5 separate regions of the Homo sapiens genome follow, and all the other regions are linked to region 5. The links are contacts of gene promoters, found by promoter capture Hi-C in human tissues and cell types (Jung and others, 2019). All regions are on one chromosome and are shown on one strand. The core of a region is centred on a gene start or on the middle of the fragment in contact, and the rest is flanking DNA. Distances in the headings are between cores, read along the strand shown. Region 1 overlaps LNCARSR (lncRNA regulator of Akt signaling associated with HCC and RCC). Region 2 has its middle 61 kb from the start of FOXB2. Region 3 holds the start of LINC01507 (long intergenic non-protein coding RNA 1507). Region 4 overlaps GCNT1 (glucosaminyl (N-acetyl) transferase 1). Region 5 holds the start of PSAT1 (phosphoserine aminotransferase 1).

The links. The method cuts DNA at HindIII sites, captures the fragments that hold promoters and counts their contacts. A contact is called where the count stands out against the background at its distance.
Region 1: a fragment that was not itself captured here is called in contact with the fragment with the promoter of PSAT1 in region 5 in 1 of the 25 tissues and cell types used here (dorsolateral prefrontal cortex).
Region 2: a contact is called between a fragment that was not itself captured here and the fragment with the promoter of PSAT1 in region 5, in 2 of the 25 tissues and cell types used here (H1 embryonic stem cells and spleen).
Region 3: a fragment that was not itself captured here is called in contact with the fragment with the promoter of PSAT1 in region 5 in 1 of the 25 tissues and cell types used here (heart left ventricle).
Region 4: a fragment that was not itself captured here is called in contact with the fragment with the promoter of PSAT1 in region 5 in 1 of the 25 tissues and cell types used here (sigmoid colon).

Annotation. Positions count from the first base shown.
Region 1 is chr9:79,555,194-79,560,180 of GRCh38, reverse strand. All of the region lies in intron 1 of LNCARSR (lncRNA regulator of Akt signaling associated with HCC and RCC), which reads left to right. Among named protein-coding and RNA genes, the nearest start is that of LNCARSR, 10 kb to the left of the region's middle. The HindIII fragment of the contact is 4,637 bases long and covers 1-3,812 here.
Region 2 is chr9:77,078,432-77,083,466 of GRCh38, reverse strand. No RefSeq gene overlaps it. Among named protein-coding and RNA genes, the nearest start is that of FOXB2, 61 kb to the right of the region's middle. RefSeq lists an enhancer at 2,249-3,448. The HindIII fragment of the contact is 5,140 bases long and covers 108-5,035 here.
Region 3 is chr9:79,820,536-79,826,163 of GRCh38, reverse strand. LINC01507 (long intergenic non-protein coding RNA 1507) reads right to left here and starts at 1,634. Exons shown (of 3, transcript NR_121213.1): 1 at 1,538-1,634. The HindIII fragment of the contact is 3,223 bases long and covers 2,738-5,628 here.
Region 4 is chr9:76,465,621-76,470,539 of GRCh38, reverse strand. The region is part of intron 2 of GCNT1 (glucosaminyl (N-acetyl) transferase 1); the gene reads right to left. Among named protein-coding and RNA genes, the nearest start is that of GCNT1, 8.9 kb to the right of the region's middle. RefSeq lists an enhancer at 1-53. The HindIII fragment of the contact is 4,539 bases long and covers 1,224-4,919 here.
Region 5 is chr9:78,295,803-78,301,326 of GRCh38, reverse strand. It overlaps PSAT1 (phosphoserine aminotransferase 1), which reads right to left and starts at 4,202. Exons shown (of 9, transcript NM_058179.4): 1 at 4,057-4,202; 2 at 665-725. The coding sequence starts at 4,116. RefSeq lists a silencer at 3,597-3,836 and enhancers at 3,789-4,372, 4,373-4,956, 4,847-5,116. The HindIII fragment of the contact is 7,295 bases long and covers 1,931-5,524 here.

The DNA of each region.
Region 1 (4,987 bases), core at 245-2,744, 1.3 Mb before region 5:
CGAATTCAACTTTTGTTTTCTGAAGCCCTGCTGAATACATTGTCTGGATTGTACCACAGAATGCTGAAAGCAAAACACGGGTGGGTCTATCAAACAATCCCTGACTCTGTTTATAACAACTGAAGCTGTGCCTTTCATATCGGATTCCCATCAGAAAGGGCAGGGGGGAGGAAGAGATAAGCTCATCAGTGAAATAGTATCCTTTAACAACAACCAGTTACTTCCTGCAATCAAAACCATGCTAGCATGTGGCTTGTTCAAATAAAAATTACTGGACTGGAGCCAAACAAGGAAAAAGTAATTGATAATGTGGTTTTTCAGAAACCATCCATCCATCAAATGTGTCAGTCCTTCATAATACTTTATTTCCCTTCTGAACAAAGATCTTTAAAATTCATTGTGTGCACTTAAAAACAAAGTGTCCTTGTGCTGGTTTATAAAGATTCTCTTTTAGTTTGGGTTTGTTTTGTTATTTGATTACATTCCCTCCCATCCTGCATTTTTTTTCTCCCAGATAGTTGCTGGAAATTTCTGCCATTCTTAAACAAAGCATCTTTGTGCTGTATCAGCTTGCATTTTCCTTGGATTGTGTTTGGATGATGCCTTTTCACTGACTTCAGCACTGGAGTATTGTAGCCATAGCCTTAGTAAGTAGAGTGTAACAAACAGATTCACCAGCCCTTTTTGTGTGTTGCATCCTATTAATCGCTGGTGAGAAACACTTCTTGGAGTAAGGCACAGGGCCTATTACAAATAGAAGAAAAAACGGGTGAGGAAATATTGGATCATACTTGCAACTAGAGAAAGCCATTAATAGTCATCATAAAAAGAAATGTCCCCCTTCTAGTAATTCCTCCAATACATATGACAATCTTATAACTAAAACTTTTTATTTATTATAGGATTCTAAAGATCAGTTTGCAAAACTGATAGTACGTTAGCTCACCAGCGGTTTCCAAAAGCAACATCTATAAAGTAAATTTCAGCAACATTCACTCATTTCTCCTCTTTATGACTTCCATATTAAAGCTGGGCTTACTAGAGATTTGATGCTACACACATACACACACACACACACACACATTTTGCCCAGATATGAGCAAGATCTTGTCCATATCTTGCCATATCTTGCCCATATCTTGTCCAGATATGGGCAAGATCACACCTCAAAATGCATAAAGAGATATTAGTTTCCCAAAAATTATATTTTAAATTATAGTTCTACGATTAAAACACTGAAAATATGAGAAATAATGAAGCTTTGGTGAAGAAGAAATGCCACGTGATTGAGACTTTTTTCACTTCTTTCAGCTACCTCTTTTATAAGTCAACACAATCATATTATGATTTCTTTTGAATACTTCTAGCGCTATCAACTATTGACCTGCCAAATACTTTAGAATTGTAGTTAGATTTCGTCTTCAGTGTCTTAGCACATGCTACCAAGGAGCCAGGCCCTTAGGAGATAGTTATTCCTGGGAGGCAGCTAAATCCTGGCCAGAGAAGCCACTCGTGTTACCTCACCAGGCATCTCAGGAAAGTTTCTTTTTAAAGAATGCCAGGAAGAAAAAGTTTCAGTAACAGCACAAAACCTCTATATTACAAGTCCTGCTTCTGAAATTTCTCTTTTGGCCTGCCCCAAATTAATACTAAAAAAGTTACATTCATACCAAGATAATAATAACAATTTTTATTTGTACCTTTTTTTGCCTACGAGATGTTACTACTAGAATACCAAAAAGAAACAAATGTTCACTCCTCATCCAAAGATTGCAACACAAAGAAATACAAAGTATATAAGGCTTCAGGGTTATTTTTGGTGGGACAGATATTATTCATTTGGAAATAGCAAAGATATCAAGTACTAAGTCATCATTCCTGGTGAGTTCCTTGAAAACAAGACCTAATTTAGCTTTTTTTTGTGTGAGAAATTACAAGAAAGTCAATGATACAAATTATATTTTCAAAGGTACTCACAAAAAAGAACTAGAAAAACACATATAAATATTTTCATCCTTTGTTTTTCAGCTAGAATTTGCTGTATGTCAAATTTGTCCATTGTTTCACAGTAGGTCTTGTGAGAAGATAAAAATGAAACAGAATAACTTTTTTTTGTAATATTTTAATGTGCTTTGACTTTGTTTTGTATTTTCTCAAACTGAACTTTTCCCTATTCTGCCAGAGACATCTGAAAAACATGCCTCAGAGAATTTTTGGATTGTTATAGATATGGTTCAAAATGAAAAAAAGACCTAATATTCAATTTTTGATATTCAAAAGGGGATTATGTCACAAGTCAACCTATTGTTGAAAGCCAGGCTTTGTCAAAACAGAAATAACTTTCCAGAATAATCATATTGTGACATCAAGAGCTAGGCATGAGGCTGGGAGTGGTGGCTCATGCCTGTAATCCCAGCACTTTGGGAGGCTGAGGCGGGTGGATCACCTTAGGTCAGGAGTTCGAGACCAGCCTGGCCAACACGGTGAAACCCCGTCTCTACTAAAAATACAAAAAATTAGCCAGGTTTTGGGGTGAGTGCCTGTGATCCCAGCTACTCCGGAGGCTGAGATAGAAGAATTGCTTGAATTCAGGAGGCGGAGGTTACAGTGAGCCCAGGTCACACCATTGCACTCCAGCCTGGGCAACAAAAACAAAACTCCATCTCAAAAGAAATAGAGCTAGGCATGGGTGACTAGATAATGATTTCTTCCATGGAGAGGAGAAGCTAGGCAGTGAAGCTTGCTACCCTGGGATAGCAGAAGGATATAATGATAGGAAATGAAAAACCCCAGACTTATTCCTCTTGGTCTGAGGGTTGTGGGAGGAGAGGAAGGATAGTAGTGGTTAGGCTACCATCTTTTCTCTTGGGGCCAATGTTCCTTGGGTAGACATGTATATCAGAAACATAAATCATTTAACTGATTTAATAAATATCTTTTCACGCTTTTCCATATCTGAAATCAGGATGCATCAGGATGTGTCACAGCTTTCTGGGCATTATTATTAGGTTATTATTATGTTATATTATTAGTAGTAGGAGTAGTACATAGAACAATGGTATATCTCAACACCAATGGCATCTTAGAGTCAACGAAATGTGTTAGGTTGAGGAGAAAGGGGAAGAGAGTGGCGTCTGTGCTCCTTTCCATCTAGGACTCTGTCCTCACAGACTGCTCTCAGCAACCAGGAAGGCCATATGAAAGTAAACCCACATGTCGCCCAGGGTGAGGTAGAAAGTGGACCTCCTCCATCATTTTCTGCTTCTCCATAGCATGAATGAACTCTAGAATATCCAAGGAGGGTCTGGAAAGCTCAAGGAGAGTTAGGTAAGAACCTTCTAGGAGGAGGGCAGTCACTGTGTTAGGGGCAGCAATTGAGGACTGCCTGGCAGAGTGGCTGGGCCTGGATCTCCTGGGAGTCCTGCACCAGCAAGGGTGAACATGGGACTAAGTCACCAGGGAGGTGACCAGCTCTAGATCAAGCTGAAAAAGAAAACTGGCCATGACCTACACTAGTCCCAGGCTCTAGGACCAGGTCCCAGCAGAACCTTCTGGAAAGAAAGCAACCTTCTGTGGTCATTAGTTTCCCAGCTCATGGGTCTTCTGCAGTAGACCTCATGAGAATCCAGGGTGGACTCTGCTGTTCTGAGGACCCTGTCTCCCAACTACTACACAGAGCCACCCAAGCCCCGCCTCTTCAAATGGACACAGGAGATGTCTTGGGGAAGAACATGGAGCAAACTCACAAATCTGAAAGACTGAGCATTTCTTCCAAAATAAGCTGAGTGTTAGGTAGAAAAACTGCCAAAATTAATGAAGAAGATGAAATTTCCTGGGGTGTTAAAATAAGTTTAGCTGTTTCTTTTTTCTTGCTGCCCAGTTAGGTGTTTATCAACTAATAGAAAAATGAAAGAAACTAGTTTCTATCAATATCTGATTAGTAATATAAGTGAATGTGTAATGAAGACACTGCCCTCGAGAAGTCTAGAATCTAAAGTGATAACATGAGAACATACATAAATATAAGTTACCTTTAACACAAATGTCTATGAGAAGTAGACCAACTATCTATGTCTTTGAGAGATAGACCAATTATGCATAAATAGCAAATTGTGATTCTATGATCTGTATTGTAATAGTAACGGTGTTTTATTGGAACCAAAGGATACTGTCATTATTAGGATGATTACTTGTGTAGTAGGAGTGTGCTAGGTGAACAGGGTAGATGTCACCAAGTGGATGGACCATTGTGTCACAATGACATAAAGCACATTGGAACATCCCTTTTAATTCAAATGAATCCCCTCTTTATAAAGCTGGGCTTATTGACTAAAGACCATTATCATGTAAAGAATGAATGAGAGGAAGCCATAAAACATGCTCTTTCACCCCTTTTGTGTTTATAGCTACCCAGAAATGAACATCAATATTTAACTGTCTGGATTATTTTAGGCTTGTAAAAAACCAATTAGCTATGACTCGGTCCCAGTGTTTGGAGCCTTCGTGGAGCACAGTATGGGAGTGTTTAGTTCTTGTGGTCAGAAGCAGAGAGCTTGGAGAAAGGTTAGAGTGGCAAGGGTCATTGCTGGGTTAGTGGGGTCTCGTGGGATGTTGTATCCTGAAGGGGCAGGCCGGGGCCAGGTTACTATGCAGCAGCCCTTGTAAGGCAGTCAGAGAAGGCTTCAGCTGGATTGTTGGCAGCACACAGAACCTTTGGCCACAAGAGCTGCATCCTTGAAAATACATCACAGACTTGAGCCTTTCATTCCAGGCAGTTTAGGACCACCCCTGCCTTCGGGTAGAAACCTCCAGGCTTATAAGACCTTAGTCAGCTGGAGTAATTCTGATTCCTCTGAATAAATAAGTCCTCCTCTCCAATCAAAGCTTACATGTTTTTGTGTGAAAATAAACCCCCATCCTCAGACTTAACAGGTCTTCTGTAGGGACATCTATGTTGGGCCTGGGGCAGAGAGATTGGAGTGTGGGG
Region 2 (5,035 bases), core at 1,428-3,927, 1.2 Mb after region 5:
TGTGGACTTGAATCAAAAAAATAAAATAAAATAAAATCTTTTATTATGGGGAGTTGGTACCAAGTATTACAATTTTGTCTGACAAACTTAGTTTTTTAGGTTCAGCAACCATGAAAAGCCCTTAGCTCCTGTCTGAATTCTCAGCCTTTTCAGCTTGGAGATCTCATGGACTCTGTGTTACTACTGTCTGTACTTTTGCTCATCTATATTTTCAGCACACATTCAAAGCGAGAAGGCCACACATCAATGCAATCCATCACACCAAGGGATACGCTCCATTGTGAACAATGGCTCTGCCTAACAGTTGAAGAGGCCTTTAATCTCCTCGTATTTATCTAAGTTTACCAAAAAATTAAACCTCCTAGTTTACCCAAAGGGTAGGTCTTGGCTATGTGTAGATATTACCTTTTTCTAGAAAAGTCAGATTCTAAGAAGTATAGATGTGACAGAATCTTCTCTTTTCTCTCTGGAGGTTCAATATTTGAGTTTCAGAAATAAACTCGGCAGCCAGGCACAGTGGCTTATGCCTGTAATCCCAGCACTTTGGGAGGCCGAGGCAGGCAGATTACCTGCGGTCAGGAGTTCGAGACCAGCCTGACCAACATGGTGAAACCCCATCTCTACTAAAAATACAAAAAAATTAGCCAGGCGTGGTGGCAGACACCTGTAATCCCAGCTACTCAGGAGGCTGAGGCAGGAGAATCGCTTGAACCCGGGAGGCAGAGGTTGCAGTGAGCCGAGATTATGTCTCCGTACTCCAGCCTGGGCAACAGAGCAAGACTCTGTTTCAAAATAAATAAATAAATAAATAAACTCAACAGTAGACACATTAACAGGACAAAAGGGATACAAATGTATTATGTGCATACACACAGGGCTCCCACAAAGTTTGAGACTCAAAGAAGGCCAGATGGGTTGAAGCTTAAATAGCATTTTGAGCTACAGAAAGAAATAGGAGCTGGGGGCTCCTAGGGGATGATGACAACAAACTATAGGAGGGTGAGGAGAGGAACCGCACTGCCAACAAAGGTTGTCTTAATGTGCAGATAAATTCTCTCAGGTAGCAGCTCTCAGAAGGATAGGTGAAAAGTCTGTCTGGATGTGGTGTCCTGGGTATAGACCTTTAGTCTCTTTTCCTGAGATATGAGTTTTGTTGTTGTTGTATTGTTTTTTTGTTTTTTTTTTTTCTGAGACCGAGTCTCACTCTGTCACCCAGGCTGGAGTGCAGTGGCACGACCTTGGCTCACTGCGACCTCCACCTCCCAGGTTCAAGTGATTCTCCTGCCTCAGCCTCCCAAGTAGCTGGGACTACAGGCATGTGCCACTGTGCCCGGCTAATTTTTGTATTTTTAGCAGAGATGGGGTTTCACCATGTTGGCCAGGCTGGTCTCGAACTCCTGACCTCAGGTGATCCGCCCACCTCAGCCTCCCAAAGTGCTGGGATTACAGGCATGAGCCACTGCGTCCGGCCTACCAACACCAGTTTTATCTCTCCACACATTTCCTCTATTTTATGTTTATGTCTTTACCTTACAGGTTATTTGGTTAAATATGATAGAGGTCAATTATTTATTTATCCTGTTACAAAAAAATGTGTCAGCCTTCTGATTTATACTTTCAAAGACATTTAAGAAAGTTAGGACATTCAGGCCAGGTGCGGTGGCTCACGCCTGTAATCCCAGCACTTTGGGAGGCTGAGGTGGGTGGATCACGAGGTCTGGAGATCGAGACCATCCTAGCTAACATGGTGAAACCCCGTCTCCACTAAAAATACCAAAAATTAGCTGGGCGTGGTGGTGGACACCTGTAGTCCCAGCTACTCAGGAGGCTGAGGCAGGAGAATGGCGTGGACCCGGGAGGCAGAGCTTGCAGTGAGCTGAGATCGTGTCACTGCACTCCAGCCTGGGCAACAGAGCGATACTCCGTCTCAAAAAAAAAAAAAAAAAGAAAGTTAGAAAGCTAGGACAAACAACTTATAGAAATGGTCTGCAATGAGTATTCAGAGTATAAGTCACATACTAGAAACCAGTAAAATACTCTTGTGTCTAAGAAATAGTCAAGAAACTTGCCCTTTTGCTGCTTATATTCACAGTTTTCCAACTTTCATCTTCAAAATCTTTACAGTTTTGGACTGGTCAGTCAAAGTGCAACCAGACCTATATAATATTTATTCCTTTTCCTCAAAAATCCTCTGTGGCTGGTATACCATATGAATTACTGTGCCTTGAGTGTTGCCTGTCTGATGGCCTCAGGTAAATCTTTGTAATAAATTCTTGTGGGGTCCCATGGAGCTGTGGTGTTTGCCTGCATGCCCCATTGCCAAATGACAACCATGGGTCAGGCATTCTTTCCCGGGTGACTCATAAACCAACATACACGAGGCTGGGTGCAGTGCTCATCCCAGCACTTTGGAAGGCCGAGGTGGGCGGATCACCTGAGGTCGGGAGTTCGAGACCACGCTGACCAACATGGTGAAACCCTGTCTCTACTAAAAATACAAAATTAGCCAGGCATGGTGGCGCATGCCTGTAATCCCAACTACTTGGGAGGCTGAGGTAGGAGAATCGCTTGAACCCGGGAGGCGTAGGTTGTGGTGAGCTGAGATCGCACCATTGCACTCCAGCCTGGGCAACAGAGCGAAACTCTGACTCAGAACAGAAAACCAAAACCAAACCAAACCAAACCAAACAAAACAACCCAACATAACACAGTCTGACAATATTTCTTCCAGGCCTGGTGCTTGATCGTTGCTAATCAGTGGGAACACAGAAAGAAGATGGGTCATGACTTCTTCATATTTCCTAATTAATTGCAACCACTATGAGACGTAAGAACTTGAACCAGAGTGATTTAGAGAGCAAATTTGGTCTTCCCAATCCCCAGAGTTAGATCTTCCATGATGGTGCATTCTTCCTGTCCGGCTGCTGCTGTAGAAATTCCTGCAAAATTAAAGGCAAAGGTTTTCATTTCCTGATGGGGTTCTGGAGGCCACTGTGCTGTGATTTTCAGGAGAAACAGGGAGAGAACGACTGTAATTCCTCGAGAGGCCCTGAAAGGTCACCATACCTGAGTGTCCTTGAATTTATTGTGGTAGAGATGGTAGGGGAGGGCTCACTTGAAACATTCTCCCATCAGGGTAGTTTTTAGAAATTCTATGTCTCAGCAAGACTAACTGTTTAACATGTTCTCCATACCCTGGATTACCGAAATGCAGCTTTCACACTCTCATTGAAACTGTCTTTGCAAAGATTAAGACAGGCAGAAAAGTCTAGCATGGCTGACTCCATCTTGCTTCTAGCCTCACAGGCTGGCTGTCTTCACTCATTCCTAGGTGTAGGCCAAGCTAACGATGGGAGGAATTTAGTTTGTAATTTAACTTTGAAACAGGGATAATAACAGCCCCTCCCTAAAACTGCTCCCCTCCTTTTTCAGGGGCTGAAGCTGCCTTTGTAAAACTAATGAAAGGCCACAAGATTAGGATCATGGGAAGAGCCTGAATTCTGCTAAAACGTAAGTGAAGATTCTATAATCCCTTACTGCTCAGGAATCATGTGGCTAGAGGTCACAAGATTTGCGACTTCTCCAATTGCTCCAGTAGATAACATCACTATTGTAGAACCTAAGATTGGTCTTTTGAGATGTTTTTCAGACTAACCCCACCTGGACTCATGATTCAACCAGTCCTGTGGCCCCCAACCCAGAGGGAAACAGCGCACAAGGACCGTTTTCCACACCCCTATGATTGCGTCCCCAACCAATCAGCTGCACTTATTCCCTCTTCCCCTGCACACCAAACTATCCTTGAAAAACCCAAACCTCTAGGCCTTTGGGAAGAATGATTTGAGTACTAACTCTGTCTACCACATGGCTAGGCTAGTGTCAACTGAACTCTTTCTTTACTGCAGAAATAGTCAAGAAACTTGCCCTTTCGCTGCTTATATTCACAGTTTTCCAACTTTCATCTTCAAAAATCTTTACAGTTTTGGACTGGTTAGTCAAGGTGCAACCAGACCTATATAATTTTTATTCCTTTTCCTCAAAAATCCTCCATGGCTGGTATATCATATGAATTACCCTGCCTTGAGTATTGCCTATCTGATGCCAATCTATTGCCATCAGGATGTTGCCTATCTATTTCACAGTCTCAGTGAATTGTTTTTTGTCTGTGCAGTGGGCAGGAAGAACCTGTGAGACGATTACATCATTTTCTCAAGTTCTCAACCTATCAGGAGCTGAAATGCCACTTGAAGCACACACTATGCCAGATATCAGGAAAGGAGTAGAATTGGTAGTTAAAGCAACTGGAATTTAGATAGAGAAACAGCAGTCACCATTAATAAGGGTTGCCTCTCTAGTGCCGTCTCAACTGATTCTGTATAATTTTTCTGTCTACTTTATCAACAAGTGAGGGATGGGTGTTGAAAAATCTCCAACTACAATTATGGATTTATCTATTTCTCCTTTCAGTTCCATTTTTGGTTCATGTATTTGGGAGTTCTCTGCATTAGTTTTGAATGAGCAAATCCTGCCATTTTCTTGAGGTTATATTATCAATGGTATTAGGAGGTATAAAAAGCAGAAGAGGTTTAGAAACTTTAAAAAACAGAATAATGTCAATTAGAAACTGATGATATTTATTATCAAAATCTAAAACCAAGTTTCTTCATCAGACCAAGAACTAAAGTTTGTGTGTATGAGAGTGTGTATGAGTGTGTGTGTGTATGTGTGTCATGGTGCACCAGAAGCAATCTTCTCCATTTGTGTGACAATGTAAACAACAGTCACAGGAGTTCTACTGCAGAAGGTTTGTGTAACTTCCACCATTTCCATCAATAAGAGGAAACAAAAAATTGTGTGAGATCTAAACACAAAATTGTATAAGAAATAAACGTATAAAGCTATGACTCCACTTACTTTATTATAATCTTTTTGGGAAAAGATAAATTTGGATCTATACCTTTTAGTGTATATTATGTGTAAGAAAGGGGTAAGAATGCATATATATACTTGTTTAACTTGTAAAATGAAACTCCAG
Region 3 (5,628 bases), core at 3,100-5,599, 1.5 Mb before region 5:
AGCAAATGTATAATGACACATATTCATTATACATTTGTGTAATTACAGTATCCTGCAGAGTATTTTCACTACTTTAAAGTTCTCTGTGCATCACCTATGCAACCCTAACCCCCAACCCCAAACCCTCTGGCAACCACGGATCCTTCTACCGTCTTCATAGTTTCGTCTTTCCCAGAAAGTCATATAATTGGAACTATAAGGTATTGTTTCATTTTTAAAACAGGCCTTAAAGAAGCAAATCTCTTTCTGTCATCCCTCTAGCTCTCTGCAGATATTCAAAATTGCCAATAGCTGTCCAGAGTTTTCTCTATTACCTGTTTATTTGAAAACATGGAATACTTCTTTAAATTCTAGAATCAATCTTGACTCATTAAAAGGTATTAATTTTTGCATCAGGCCATTCTCTTGCCACTTATTAAGCCTAGCTGTGAGGGAGGCAGTGCATTAAGGCTTGTTGCCCTGCATGCAATATTACGCCACTAAAGGCACATTACAAGAATTCTATTTGCATTCAAGCATTTCCACACAAAGCAATGGCTCACATACAGTGTGAAAATTGAGTGTGCACCACTCTCAAAACTTGGAATTCTTGCCAGGGTTGAAGAGGCTTCCACTGGGGCTACCTGTTCTGAAAGTATTTTGCATCCAAGCCAACTGCTTTTTGGTAGCCCCCTCTCTGCAGTCCGGGTGTGCATCCCCAGAAAAGTATGCCTTATTGCATCTTCGGCACACTCCTCACACCCAGGACCTGTGCTCAAGCCACCAAACCATGCTGGTTCCTAAGAGCATCTCTGCAAACCAGATGTCTCTTTGTATGGTACATGCTGGGAGCATGAGTGGGGCACCAATGTGGAATGAAGTGGTCTCTCCTGCTGGAAATTATATCAGTGAATGCACTTGAAGTGCAACTGCTTGATCTCACAACAATGAAAGGATAAATGGACACAAATTTAGCTGCTTTTGATATGCTGAAGACAGGCCCCCATTTTTATTTATTTCTGAGGCTTAATGTTAACAAGAATAGAAAAGTGGAACTGTTATTACCACCCTGTGACTTTTGAGCTGGGCATGGTTTGGGGCATTGAAATTAGAGTAGCCTTGACTCATCTACTCCTCAACTCATTTCCAACACCGTTTTCCATTACACACTTTCAAATCTACTCGATTGAAGAGCCATCCACACATTCAACTGAAAAAGATTAAACTCCCCTGGTCTCCACACCTCTCCCTGATTTCCAAGCATTCAGGATAAGACTGCCATCCTGGGCCCCACATCACCACTGTCAGGAATAAAGAGAAAGGCTCAGAACACTCCCAGCAAGACTCCACCACTCACTGTCCTGGAACACTCCAAGCCTTCTCCTCAGTGCTTACATTGAGAACATCAAGGCAAATCTTGTTTTGCCATTCTCTCATGTACATCAAACTTCACAAGGAGCCTGCAGCTCCCAATCAACTCTGATCTTCCTGGACCCTTATTCTCAATTATCTCTATAGTCTCCCTTTTCTCATCCACTCTGCCACTCATCCCAAATACCTGAAACCAGTCCACACTGTCTTCTGGAAGTCATGCTCAATTGTTAGCTCCTCCTCACTTCTTCTCAGAACTTTTTTTCACTTCTCGCTGTAAATGGACAGACTCTCAGGAAACCACTTGCTTTTACCCAGCAGTCTGAAAGTGGTAGCTGTGGTATCTTGCAAGGTTCTCGTAATGCCAGATCTGGAGGTAGGGGCAGGTGTTCTGCTTTCATACTGCCACTGGAACATCCTTTTTCCCGCCACAAGAACAAACAACAACACAAAGTTCTGATCTTTTATTACCATGTGATTAGTCCTTACCAAGCACCATTTTAGCTTATTCCTGTTACCTACAGATCCACAGGTCACTCCCCTAATTCCTTGAAGATTTTAGCACCTAACTCACCACCACTTCTCCAACATATTTGGTAATTTCAATATCCATATATATATATGATCTTTCCAATGTCCTAGACTCGGTTTTTCGAGGCCCTCTTTTCCAACTCTCACATTTTCCACCCTGCCTCAACCACTCCCTCCAAATGCCATACTCTATCCTTATCATTACTAGTAAAGCAATCCATAACTACAATTTCAACCATTCTGTCTTTCCAGCTCACTCTCACCAATGCCCCAACTCCAAGAAACCTTGACCCCACTAGGAGCTATTAGCCATTGACTGCTTAAGCTTTTCTTGGTCCCTCAATTTCCTCCCCCACCTAGATTAGATCTGATGGTCCATCATCTCACACTCTTGCATACATTCTTAACAATCTTGTTAAGAAGATTAACAAGGCCCAAGGCCAGGTTAAATCAACTCAGTTTACTCTGCACACCAACACAGATGGCCACGGCTGGAGAAAGCCACACAGCTTGCTACGGCTGGAGAAAGCCACACAGCTTGCTGACTGATCTCATTTTAAGTTGATGACCCCTACCTTCAAAAAGGTCTCGAGCTCTGCCCATCAATCATTCCATATTTCCATAATCCATTCACTCCCCTGTTACCCTAAACTGGTGATTTTCAAACTTGAGACTGCCACAGAATCACCTGGAGGATGTGTGGAAACTCAGATTGCTGGGTCCTGACCCCTAAAGTTTCTGAATCAGGCAATCTAAGGTGGGCTTAAGAAACTGCATTTCGAAGCCAGGAGCGGTGGCTCATGCCTGTAATCCCAGCACTTTGAGGTCGAGGCAGGTGGATCACGAGGTCAGGAGATCAAGACCATCCTGGCTAACATGGTGAAACCCTGTCTCTACTAAAAATACAAAAAAATTAGCCGAGCGCGGTGGTGGGCACCTGTAGTCCCAGCTACTCGGGAGGCTGAGGTAGGAGAACGGCATGAACCCAGGAGGCGGAGTTTGCAGTGAGCCGAGATCGCGCCACTGCACTCCAGCCTGGGTGATAGAGCGAGACTCCATCTCAAAAAAAAAAAAAAAAAAAGAAACTGCATTTCAAACAAGTTCCCAGATGATGCTGACCCTGCTAATCTGGACCACACATTGATAACCACTGCCCTAGATGATTATTTCTTGACTTTTTCTTTCTTCTCAAACCTCCAACACATATTTTCCATCCTTACTCTCCATTGATGACTTAACTTGCACTCACGCACACGCACACACACACACACACACACACATCAGAAAAGAGCTTCCCAAGCTCCTGACCCCAAATCTCCTTCCTTACTGGAAACAGTGTCCATATGTTTGTCCTTCCCTCCTGCTGCTATAGCTGAACTGTCTAAGCTTCTCCCTAAAGCCAACACTTCACATGCATCCTAGATTCCATCTCCTCTCTCTTACGTAAACCCGACTCCTGAAACTTCTCCTCTCCCATCACTCTCCCTACATCAAGAATTTCTTCCTCTGTACTGGGTCATGCCCATCAGTGTCAAGTGTCTTAAAAAGAACCCCTCCTTACCCCCATATTATCCTCTATTTCCCCTTTACAGCAACATTCCATGAAATTTGACCTCCTCAGTTTTCTTCAAACTCAACCAGGTACACCCTTACCTCAGGGCCTTTGACTTGATTTGTCTCCATTCCGAAGTTTCTATAAGGCTGACTTGATCCTCTCCTTCAAGGCCTTAATCAAATGCCATCTTGTCAATGACATTGACCAACCCATTAAAAATTGCAACATCTGTTTCCCAGTGGCCAGAGCTCCCACCTCTCAACTCCGCTGACCACCAGTCTCCACTCCTCCTCTCACCTTTACTACTCACAGTCTGAAATTCAATCTCAGTTGGAATTAGGTGATAATCGGCATTAGGCAAAACTAACATCTTTCAGACAGGGCTTCTAAGAATGCTCTTTGACAACATCTAAATTGGTTAAGGCCTTCCTGTTTTTTCATCCTCTTGGTTTCCACACTTTGTGATGAAGTTCATGACCAATTTGACACTTCATGGCTTTGTCTTGAGTGTATTTAAATGCCATTGGGTCTTGGAGACTAACAGATTTCTCCTGAGGCCTCTTCAAATGTAGCTTAATTCTTAATATTTTTGTGGCTTTTGTTAATTTAAAAGACAGATCTGTAAGACCTACCTCATCTTCCTTTCTGTCTACTCATCCATCTCTATATTAAATCCTGCCTGGATACACCAGGAAAGAAGAAGAAGAAAAAAAATGGCATGTCCTTGTCCTAAAAGAATCACCATGTCAGTTGTGTCAGAGGAATTCCTATGTCATTCAAGAGGTGCTCAAGTGCTCTTAAGAAATCTAGCACTGGCTTCAAGCAAGATCCCTGGTACATCACATCATCTGCAACACAGTGAACCAGAGGGGAATGAATTTAGCTGAATCCAGCAGAAAACATATGCTGTGTAGTACTTGGGAAAGAAAATAATCAAAGTGACAAAACCAACGGATCACCCTGAAGATTGAAGGACACGCAATTTCTCCTCTGCACAGTGCCCAGATAAAGGAGAGAGCTCATACGAAAACCCCAGACATTAACGAAGGAAAAAATGATAATTAAAATATTTGTGGAATCTCCTTCTAACTAGAACTCTACCACTTTCGCTTATGGGGATAGTTGGTCAGCAATAAGAAAAAAAATGAAATCTCCATGTTAAAGATTTAAAAATAGGTGAATTTTACATACCATGGTTTCTCTATTTGAGTGATATAAAAAATAAAGACCCACTGAGGCTTTAAGTACTGCAAGTGCCCCAGGCAGAAAGATCAGGCATGGTTAAATTATTACATAGTCCATCATTTGTGTATCATGTCATCAGAGGTGTCAGTGAGGAAAAGAAGTGTGCCTCTTCCTTCGTGTTGGCCAAAGTGACAGAAATCGGTGTTCAGAACTGAAATGATGAGCGCTTCACATTAGAAGAATGCACATTAGAGCATTTAGACCTTTCAGTTATCTTATGTTAAAACAAAATAAATAAAATAAAAACACAAAATTTTAAAGGAAGAGGGGAAAATGCTAGGGCAATCAGATCAGGAAGACAAAATCTCCCCCTCTGGCAAGGTTCAGAAACATTCTGCAGCAGAAGTTCTCCACTTGTCAGAAGAATTTATTTTTCCAATTCCTTTCTCTTGGGGAGCATGCGTTTCCCCAGCAGATATGAGAATGACCTGATTCTCCCAAGGTAGCAAACTCTCAACTGGAACTCTGTTGCAGTCGCTCGTAGAAAATTTCCTGTTCCATTATTGCACCAAATGAGCTCTGGGCTAATCAGACCCTCTAGGGAAAGGATAAAAAATAAAAAGCACCCATCCCCTAAAGCGAGACTCTGAGCTGCTTTGAACTACATTTACAGCCTTAATATAACCCAAGAGATTTCACAATTCACATGAGAAGCTAAACCCTTCTTCTAATGAAATATTTATTGGGTTTATCATGGAGAAAAGGAGAACAATTTTTGATGAGCATATTCTTCTATTTATTGTGTTCATTAGAAGTGCCAGTGAGAGGTTTCAAAGTAATTTTTTCATTGTTGCTTGGGATGAAACATATAATTTTCATCATAAGCAAGATGACCGTAAATAGAATACAATTCTTGCAGAGTGCTGCCCAGGTGTTTGGTGAAGAGGAGGGAAATGTGTATCAAATGCCTCCTCCTGCACCTTACTGACTAAGCCTTATGTTGGCAA
Region 4 (4,919 bases), core at 2,244-4,743, 1.8 Mb after region 5:
CTCGACTCCTGGGCTTAAGCAATCCTCCCAACTCAGCCTCCTGAGTAGCTGGGACTACAGACGCACACCACCACACCCAGCTAATTTCTGTATTTTTATGTAGAGATGGGGTTTTACCATATTGCCCAGGCTGGTCTCGAACTCCTGGGCTCAAGCGATCTGCCTGCCTCGACCTCCCAAAGTGCTGAAATTACAGGCATGAGGTACCACACCTAGCCTAAGCACTTGTTTTTAATCCAGCAGTAATTTTCTTTTCCACTGGATAAACTGGAGGGGTATATCACGAGAAAGAGGCTGTTTTAAAGTTCACCAGCAAGCAAGTTTTCAGACTGCCTTATTTATAAATATATGTATATATTTTATTTACATTATATACATGGCATATCTATACAGTTACATTTACACTTGACTTAGAGTCAAAGTCATATACACACACACAGGACTTGGACTCAAAGCTTTTAATGACAAGCATGCAAAATTTCTTAGTATAGACCCTAAGAGTACCCTTAATATAAGTATGTTTATTTAAAAATTCTATGTATCTACTACTGTTACCAGGGGGTCCTTGCTCCCAGAGCTCCCAAGATGGTGGCAGGCCACTTCCAAAATGGTGGCAAGCCTCATGTTCTCTGACCTGGGGTTCTTGGCCTCACAGATTCCAAGGAATGGAATCTTGGGCCATGCGGTGAGTGTTATAGCTCTATTAGAAGCCATGGGTCATGGAAGAGAACCGTGGAACCCAGTGACTAATGTTCAGCTTGATTAGGATGAACCCAGGCACTTAGCCGTGCAGGAACAATGGCAAGCCTTTAGCCCGATCGGGAGCGGCAATGGGCGCCTCGCTGGATCAGGAGCACAGCGGACACCCTGCCTGATCCAGAGGGATGGAAGTCAGTGGCAGGTCTGCAACAGCGGCAAAGAACAATGGTGGACAATAAGCAAAAGCTCAGCTCAAGCCGTAACAAACACGGACCAGAAGAGAGTGCAGTTGCAAGATTTAATAGAGTGGAAACAGAGCTCCCATACAAAGGGAGGGGACCCAAAGAGGGTAGCCGTTGCTGGCTGGAATGCCTGGGTTTATGTCCTGATCATTGTCCCTCCCGCTGTGCTCTCAGGCAATAGATGATTGGCTATTTCTTTACCTCCTGTTTTTGCCTAATTAGCATTTTAGTGAGCTCTCTTCACTACCTGATTGGTCGGGTGTGAGCTAAGTTGCAAGCCCCATGTTTAAAGGTGGATGCGGTTACCTTCCCAGCTAGGCTTAGGGATTCTTAGTGGGCCTAGGAAATCCAGCTAGTCCTGTCTCTCACTATTGTACTAATAAATTACATGTATCATAATTCAAAAACTTGGAGGATGCAATAAAACTTATTACTTCAATTATAGTAGTGCACTCTTGGCTCTGCTACCTAAATCTTGACACTTAGTTTCCTCTATCCACCAATCACATAGTTTTTTGGCGAAATTTGCCCAGTGGGTTTCAATCAATTGTAAAGACTAATCAAAATAGTCTGCAGGTGCCCCATAAAGTTAACAAATGGATTAAAAACTCATTGTTACTTTTCAATTAAAGTAGTATGACAATTCTGTTTCCCAGTTTTTAATTTTTTTTCCTTTGAGAGCTTTGATAACTCACAAATGTACAATATTTTTTGGCAATATGTTCGCATTACAATGAAAACTTCTCCACACAGCCACTTCCCAAATGCCCCTTGGTAGCAGAAATTTCTTTTGAAAAGTAATTCACTGTAAGAACCTCACATTTACCTTGGATTTTTCCCTTCTCCCCAAAATATCTGACTACTGATAGGCATAGCAAAATTGGAAAGAGGCAACACATTTGAAACCCCATCTTTCTGCTAAAGAGAGATGCAGACACCTGTAAACTCAACCACTCTTACGTATCTGGCAACAAAAGAACTAGGAATGCTCTGATGGGTGCAAAGGATGGTCCTGCTCCCTCCCCAGGGCATGGCAAAGGACGACAAAGCTTCTACAGACTAAAGCAGTGATTCTTTCTCATGCCATGACATATATACCAAAAGGTAACCATCAAACATCAGCTTCAGCTCTCTTGGCTTAAGGGAGAGGGCTGAGAGAAATGCAGTATCTCAGTACACCTATCACCCGCTCAGGGACAAGTCTAACCTGAGATGCTCTAATTTAAAGCCTTTGTGTTTCTAAAATTAAACAACTCGATGACACTCTATAGCTCCTAACTTGCAACATCTCACAGTATGCTTGATGGCCAGGTGAGCAGGGCTCCAGCTAGGCAAGGAATCCCTGCCTCCTTATCCACCTTAGAAACCACATTCACCGTACAAGACACAGGACTGAAGGAGGGTCGGCGCGCGGTGACTCACGCCCGTAATCCCAGCACTTCGGGAGGCCCAGGCAGGCGGATCACCTGAGGTTAAGGAGTTCGAAACCAGCCTGGTCAACATGGTGAGACCCTGTATTTACTAATTAGCCAGGCATGGTGGCATGTGCCTGTAATCCCAGCTACTCAGAAGGCTGAGGCAGGACAATTGCTTGAACCTGGGAGGTGGAGGTTACAGTGACCTGAGATTGTGCCACTGTACTCCAGCCTGGGCGACAGAGCAAGACTGTCTCAAAAAAAAAAAAAAAAAAAAAAAAAAAAACACTGAAAGAGGGACCACTGGCATTCTTGACCTTAAATGCTTATAAAATTATAAATAGAGGTTCTTACACTTCCTTTCAACACCCCCAAAGGACTGTCCTTCGCTTCCTGCTTTGGATACCAATATAATCTCAACCTCGTTTTCTGTCCTACACAATTGGTCTCAGCCTTATTTTCTGTTCCACACAACTGACAAATGCAGTAAACTCCAGGCAGCAGGGGCTGGAGCTCAACACAGAAGAGTGGCTTTAACTGGACTCAGGGCCACTCAACAGGCAAGTAGCTCTCAATCTGGTTTGTACACTGCAACCACCAGGGAGCTTTCAAAAAGGACCAATAACGAGTCCCCCTACCAGAGATTTGATGGAATTGATATAGAGTTTGACCTGGGTGTCAGGTTTTTTTAAAAGTTCCACAGGTGTTCCTAATGTATAGCCAACACCGAGAACCATGACATGGAACATGAACCTGCATGATGTGGAAGGGGCTTGAAAAGGTCCTTCCCCTCCAGGACTGTCACCCCTAGTGGCTTTGATGCCCATCAAAAGATCAGCTGAGGCTGGGTGAGGTGGCTCACGCCTGTAATCCCAGCACTTTGGGAGGCCAAGGCGGGTGGATCACTAGGTCAGGAGATTGAGACCATCCTGGCTAACACGGTGAAACCCCATCTCTACTAAAAATACAAAAAATTAGCTGGGCGCGGTGGCGGGTGCCTGTAGTCCCAGATACTTGGGAGGCTGAGGCAGGAGAATCGCTTGAACCTGGGAGGCGTAGGTTGCAGTGAGCTGAGATCGTGCCACTGCACTCCAGCCTGGGCAACAGAGCAAGACTCCATCTCAAAGAAAAAAAAAAAAGATCAGCTGAGCATTTACTGCCTTTAGTTAACAAGCCTGTAAGGTCAAAGGTAGGAAGCAATTTGTAGAAAAAGTGGTGCAAGGCTATTTCAGGTGTACAGGGCCAAGCTTCAAGGTAATCATCATTCATAACACTTTCCAGGGAGCCAAACACAAAGCTTGGCACTAGAAAATGCTTACTAAATGCTGGCTGAAGAAATATCTGACTGCACACACAGACACACCCCAAACTCAGCCAATGGTTTTGCCACTTCCTTCAGAAAAAGTCCTCACGATTCTGGACCCAAAATCTAAAGCATCTTTATCCATCCTCTCCCTCCGTCCTTCCATCAAAGACCAAATTCTGCACTGTGTTCTCACCCTCTCTGAAAACTGGTCCTATCATTTATTTTACCCTCCTGCATCTTTAGGCTCTTCCTCTCTACCAGAAAATTCCCAGTAGTGGCCAGACACAGTGGCTCATGCCTATAATCCCACACTTTGGGAAGCCAAGGTGGGCAGATTGCCTCAGCTCAGGAATTTGAGACCAGCCTGGACAACACAGATGGTGAGACCCGTCTCTAGAAAAAGAATACAAAAATTAGCCAGGCGTAGTGCTGTACACCCTTGGTGCTACTTGAAGGCTGAGGTGAGAGGATGGCATGAGCCCCAGAGGGTGGAGGTTGCAGTGAGCTAAGATTGTGCCACTGCACTCCAGCCTGGGCAATGGAGAGAGATCCTGTCAAAAACAAAACAAACAAAATCCCAGTAGCATTAGAGCATGTTTAAATTTCTTCCATCTCAATCTGAAACAAAACAAAACATCATAGACCCCTCATTTCCTCCCTGCCCTGCATGAATATCACACTTCTCAGTACCCTTAACAGGCCTCTCTTCCTCTACCAAATACAGTGATCAAACTCTACGGGTCCAGCCCTTTTCTTTTCTCATTCTACACCCTCTTTGGATGAGTGCTTTTTATGCAGTAATACTTACATGCAACAGCTCCCAAACATGTATCTCCACCCCAGATCTCTTCCAGGAGTAGCAACTGTCTACTCCTCATCTTTACTTGGATGTCTCACAAACAAAACACACATCCAAAAAGGCATTATCTTCCCTCCCACACCTCGTGCCAACCCGCTCCTCCTCCTGTGTTCTCAATCACCATAATGGTTCCACCATCCCATCCTACTCAGTTGTTTATGCCAGAAACTTTTGAATCATCCTTGCTACCTCCCTCTCCATCAACCATATCCAAATAATCACCACCTTCTTGCTGATTTTAACTACAAACCCAATCTCACTCAATCTCAATCCTCACCTGTCATTAAGCGTTATCCAGTGCTGCTACGCCATCACTGGGTGACTGCAAAAGCACTGTTTGTTCACATCCACCCTCCTCCTCCCCAGGGTGGCCACATGATTGCACAGGCTGTGCCTGC
Region 5 (5,524 bases), core at 2,953-5,452:
AAAAACTGTAAATTGAATGTAAAGCAATATTATAAATGTTTGGAGGCACTGTTATGCAAATATACAGTATCTTCTGATCCTAAATCCTATGATTAGCAAAAACCAATTATGACAGGGTAAGCTGAGATGTCAGAACCTCTCACCAGCATTTATGCTATTTTCAAAATGGTTTCTATCAGACATGCAACCCAAGCTATTAAAGTTTAAAAATGTATCTATAAAGGCCTATAGGAAGACCCTATAGGCCCTGTAATTCTATATTTGATGCATTTAAATTAGTTCCCTTTGGGCCAGGGCTCAGTGGCTCAAGCCTGTAATCCCAAAACTTTGGGAGGCCAATGTGGGAGGATGGCTTCAGGCCACGAGTTTCAGATCAGCCTGGGCAACAAAGTGAGATCCCATCTCATGGGATCTTTAAAAAATGTTTTAAACATTTAAAAAAAATTAGCCAGGTGTGGTGATGTGTACCTATAGTCCTAGCTACTCAGGATGCTGAGGCAGGAGGGTCACTTGAGCCCAGGAGTTGGAGGCTGCAGTGAACTATGATCACGCCACTGTACTCCAGCCTGGGTGACAGAGCAGGACCCTGCCTCTAAAAAAAAAAAAAAAAAAAAAAGCTTCCTTTGAAACATGGACATTCACAGAATTCAAAAGTAAATCTTACCAAGAACACTAATGCCAACTCCTTTGTAGTCTAATAATTCCTTTTGTATCTCTAACAACACCTAGAAAAAAATAAAGGAAAATAGGGTTATTTAAATATGTTCTGCACTGCTTTCCCTCTGAACATACAAACCTGACGAGGGGACAAGGAAGGGTCTACAGTGAGGTCCCCAGGCTTCCATCCCCACCCACAGCCAGTCTCCTTCCTTCCCATGTCCACAAAGCCAGCGATTATGCAACTTACACACAAGGTAAGCATGAAATTAGGCAATGTGACTGATGTTGATACACTTTTTCCAAAGGCCCGAATTTACCGATTCCCTAGAAAATGTCCCCTTCACAAATCTCATTCACCACTCTCCTAAAGCTAAAGTAAAGAATGCATAAAGTTCTGGGTTAAAGGGACAACGATAAAAAAATTATGCCCAGATTATACAGGTAACTCAATTTTCCGATCTCTTTTGGTCTAAGGTGCTAGACTGGGAAGCGTGGGGTGGGCAGGAAGAAGGAAGAGCCTGCTGTGAATAAGATTCGTCCCAGGGTGCTGCAACAAGACTGGCACAATGTTGATAATTGTTGAGTCTCAGAGATGGGTCCTTGGAGGTTCATTACACTACTTTTATCTTTGTGTATGTGAGGATTCCCTTAATAAAAAATAAAGAGAAAAAGAAAAGCTTTAAAAATGAACACAAAATAAGTGCAAAAGCAACCAGCCAGAGAAGGTCTACAGATAGGAGGCACCTTTTTTTTTAAGATGCTTGCTAAGGAGGGCATCATTAAAACACAGCTATAACCTAAACTGGATTGCAACTTGTCTCAAAAAACAGTATTTTAACAATAAAGAATTAGACAAGGCCGGGCGTGGTGGCTCACGCCTGTAATCCCAGCACTTTGGGAGGCCAAGGCGGGCAGATCATGAGGTCAAGAGATTGAGACCATCTTGGCCAACATGGTGAAACCCCGTCTCTACTAAAAATACAAAAATTAGCTGGGCTTGGTGGTGGGTGCCTGTAATCCCAGTTACTCAGGAGGCGGAGGCAGAAGAATCGCTGGAACCCGGGAGGCGGAGGTTTCAGTGAGCCGAGACCAAGCGACTGCACTCCAGCCTCGTGACAGAGCTTGACTTCTCTCAAAAAAAAAAAAAAAAAAGAATTAGATTAAAAAAAAGACTGCCTTGACGACTGGGTCTAAGAATGTGTTATTGTTTTCTGAAATGTTGGATGCTTGTTAGCACCAGCTGATCAAATAAAATAGAGTGAATCTTTTCTTTTAGTAAAGAGAAACATTCATCTGTGAATAATCTTTGAACTTGCTCCTGAGACTGTATCTTTCTTATAGACAGCATTCATTGAAAATAGTTCTATAAAAGTTTATAACCAAAATAATTACAAACAGTTTTAAAGACTCCTACTGAAAAATCACACCTCCCTAATCCAGTAGGTTTTTTTTTTTCCAGTTGAAGAATGCATTGCTTTTGTGGATCATAACCAATTTTTTTTTTTTTTTTTTTTTTTTTTTTGTTAAGAGACAGGGTCTTGCTCTATCACCCAGCCTGGAATGCAGTGGGACAATCACAGTTCACTACAGCCTCAAACTCCTGGGCTCAAGAGATCCTCCCACCTTAGCCTCCTGAGTTGCTTGGATTACAGGCGTGCGCCACCACACCCAGCTCACGACTAATTTTTTTAATGAAACAGAACAGACTAGAGCAGGATAGAATACAAAATAGTGTATGTCACAGGTAATTAGGCTACACATCATTTCATAAGGCATTTATTTTTGTTACAATTGAATGTGTATACTTTGTCATTTTGTAAACATGTTTTTCACTGTAGGTTACAGTCAAAAGAAGTTTGAAAGCTTCTCTAATATTTACAATTCAACTAAATCAAGGAAATACATAAAAAGCAACATCTGCCTGCCCCCTCACCCTCCTGCCCCCCAGGTTACATGCAGTCCAAGGGCAAAAATCCTCCCAGAAAAATTAATAACAAATAATTGTATTACTGATGACAATTGCCATTACAATTATAGTAATAAATTAATAACGAAATACATAGGGAACAAACGTTGGGAACACTCCAAAACATGGGGGGTGCAGGAGGAGGCTACAGGAAACATCTCCACAGCTGGAGCAGGGAATCTCGCCTAAAATGAACTGTAACCACTGAGAAAAAATAAGCCCTGTCCTCTCAGCTACTGTGAGCGCTGCCCCTAGAAAAGTAAGAAGTCCTTTCCCCTTTAAAATTGGATTCTCTGTTCTTACCACAACACAGAGGAGGCTCTGTCCCAGGGAGATTTCTACTCTGCTCAACAATTGATAATTGTAAAATACTTGGCTATGCCTCATGCTGCTCCAACATATTATCAGCTCTATCCTGGTTAGAAAAATAAAAATCTAACGGCGGCGGCAGCCGCCTGACAATGGGCTCAAGGCACATCGGAGACTTTGCCTTCTTCACTGCGGGTGGGGCTGGGGACGGTGGGTTTGGCGGGGGAGGGGAGGAGCCGGGCTGGGGCCTGGGAAGGCAGAGAGTGAGTTCCACCAGCAAGATCTGATTGTGGCCCGGGAGAGAATTCAATCACTCGGTTTACTCCAGAACGAAATGAACAGGGAATTGGGTTAAGCAGCCCAAAGTCTACCAGAGTTAGAATACTCGAACGCCTTTAGGGGACAAGCAGGTTAAAAAAAGGAGGGGGGTGGGGAGAAAGGCTTTAGGAAAGGGTAGGTTCTATGGGGGACAAGGAGGGGAAAGCTGGACTGAAGGTTTTCAAATTTACATTTCTGAAAAGCAGTGTTCCTAAGTGCTGGCTAAAGCAAACACTGGTGTAAGGCGTAGGGGGGCACGCACACGCGGACCTTTAAGTTTGCAATCCCTTTCAGCTAACGTGATCCACTGCATATGCAAAACCTGTCATCGGTTCATTCCCGTTCATCACTCATTCACACTATGTCCATTCATGCATCCGCTCCACACTGCCCGGGCTCGCCGCACAGCTGCGCGAGGCGAAGGCAGAGATCAGAGCTTTTTCTTTTTCGCCCCGCCCCAGCCCCCGGACCGGCCCAGGAGATGGCACAGCCCGGGCGTCTGCAGGTGCGTGGCACCGGCGGGACAGCAGGCCCCGGCCAGCTGAGTCGTGCACTGCCTCGCACCAGCAGTCAGGGCCAGGGGCAGCTGCACGGGCACGCCTCGCCGAGCTTCCTCACCAACTGCATTCTTCCCGAAGCCCGCTTGCCGGAGCTGCTGATCCCGCTGTGCACGCTGATGCAAAGCGCCTAGGGGACTCAAGGCAGGGAGCGGGAATCCGACTGCCACACGCAGGGATGCAAACCCACCCGCGTGCGTGCTCCCGCCTGAACCTCACTCCCGGCGCCCGCTCGCGGGGACTTACTGAGTGCGGCAGCTTGGCGGGACCAGGCCCAAAGTTGACCACCTGCCTGGGGGCGTCCATGGTGCGGCGGCCAGGGCGGTGAGTCAGCCAAGGAGGACCGAACGCGTGAACGGCTGGCGTTCCTGGCCGCTGCGGTGAGAGTCTGCAGCCGGCCCCGAACCCCCGCCTTGTTCCTGCGCCGAGTCGGCGCCCCATTGGCCCGTGCTGTCGCAGGCCCTGCGCTAATTGGTTCGCGCGAAGGAGCTCACATCCCCATTGGTCGCGCTTCTGAGCCGAGTCGAAGCAGTTGCTCCTCCTCGCGTTTACTGTTTCAACCCCCATTTTTGATCAATGCAAGGAGCGCGCGAGATTGCGCCAGCCAGCCGAGCCGGCTCGGCTGCGCGCCCGCCCGAGGATTGTGGGCGGCGGGAAGAGGCTGCCCCTGCCAACCTGCCTTCGCCCCTTGAGCCCGCAATCTGGCCGGTTCCAGTCCTCCAACCCCAGAGGACCTCAGCTCCTCTCTCTTGGCTGAAAGGGCAGTTGCCGAGCAGATTTGTAGCCCCCATCCACCCACCTCTCCACCACCAGCCCCCAGTTTGGGCTGTGATGTATTTGTTCCAGAACCACCAGTCACTAATCTACCAAACTTTTCTAAGCACCCCCCACGGGCGTCAGATACCCCAGTGGAGAGAGAGGACCCCCCCAAGGTTGGAAGCGCAGGATGAAGAAGGGCCGGGGGTGGGTGGATACGGTTCTTTGTATTTGCACGTGGGTCCTGAGTTCCTGCAGGATTAAAGAACGGAGGTGGCCAAGGACGCAGGGAGGAGCGATAGCCTGGGAAGCGTGGATGCCCGCCAGGCAAGTCCTTTAAAGTCGCTGATTCTCCATTTCCTCCTTTGGGAAACGAGTGAGCTGGAAACCTGCGACAGCTCTCAGGTTGCGCCCGCGCTGACAAGCTGTGAGTTTAGAAACGTGAGGAGATATTAACAAGAACGCGATACCCATAGGGCGCTGCAGCCCAAACCAGAAGAAGGTGGCCCCTAGCCAGGCCAGGCGCAGGGCCAGAGCTGCTCAAACTTTTCCACAGAAGTGTCCTTCTCAAAAGAACTCCAGTGGAGACCCGCATGGGGTTCTGAAACAGAATACCCTCCCCCTACCCTGCAAGAAAGAAGTTCCTTTGAAGTCTGGAATTTCATCATTTTTAAACTGTGAATTTTGCATTCTCTACCATAATTTAACCTAGTTTCTTTTAATGTAAAAATATTTTCCCTGTCTGAGTAAAATTGATGCGCCAGGAATATATACAGTCCAACTGCCCCGTTTAGAGAAGGCTTGTAACTGGACAGGACTTTGGCTTTTGTTTGCTTTTCCTAATGAGAATGTGGGCGGTATGGGGCTGAGAGCAGAGGCACTGCTCTGGATCTGGGAATTGGAGGACAAAGTTTCCAGAAAAAGGCAAAATGAACAAGGCCCCTGCGTTCCTCAGCAA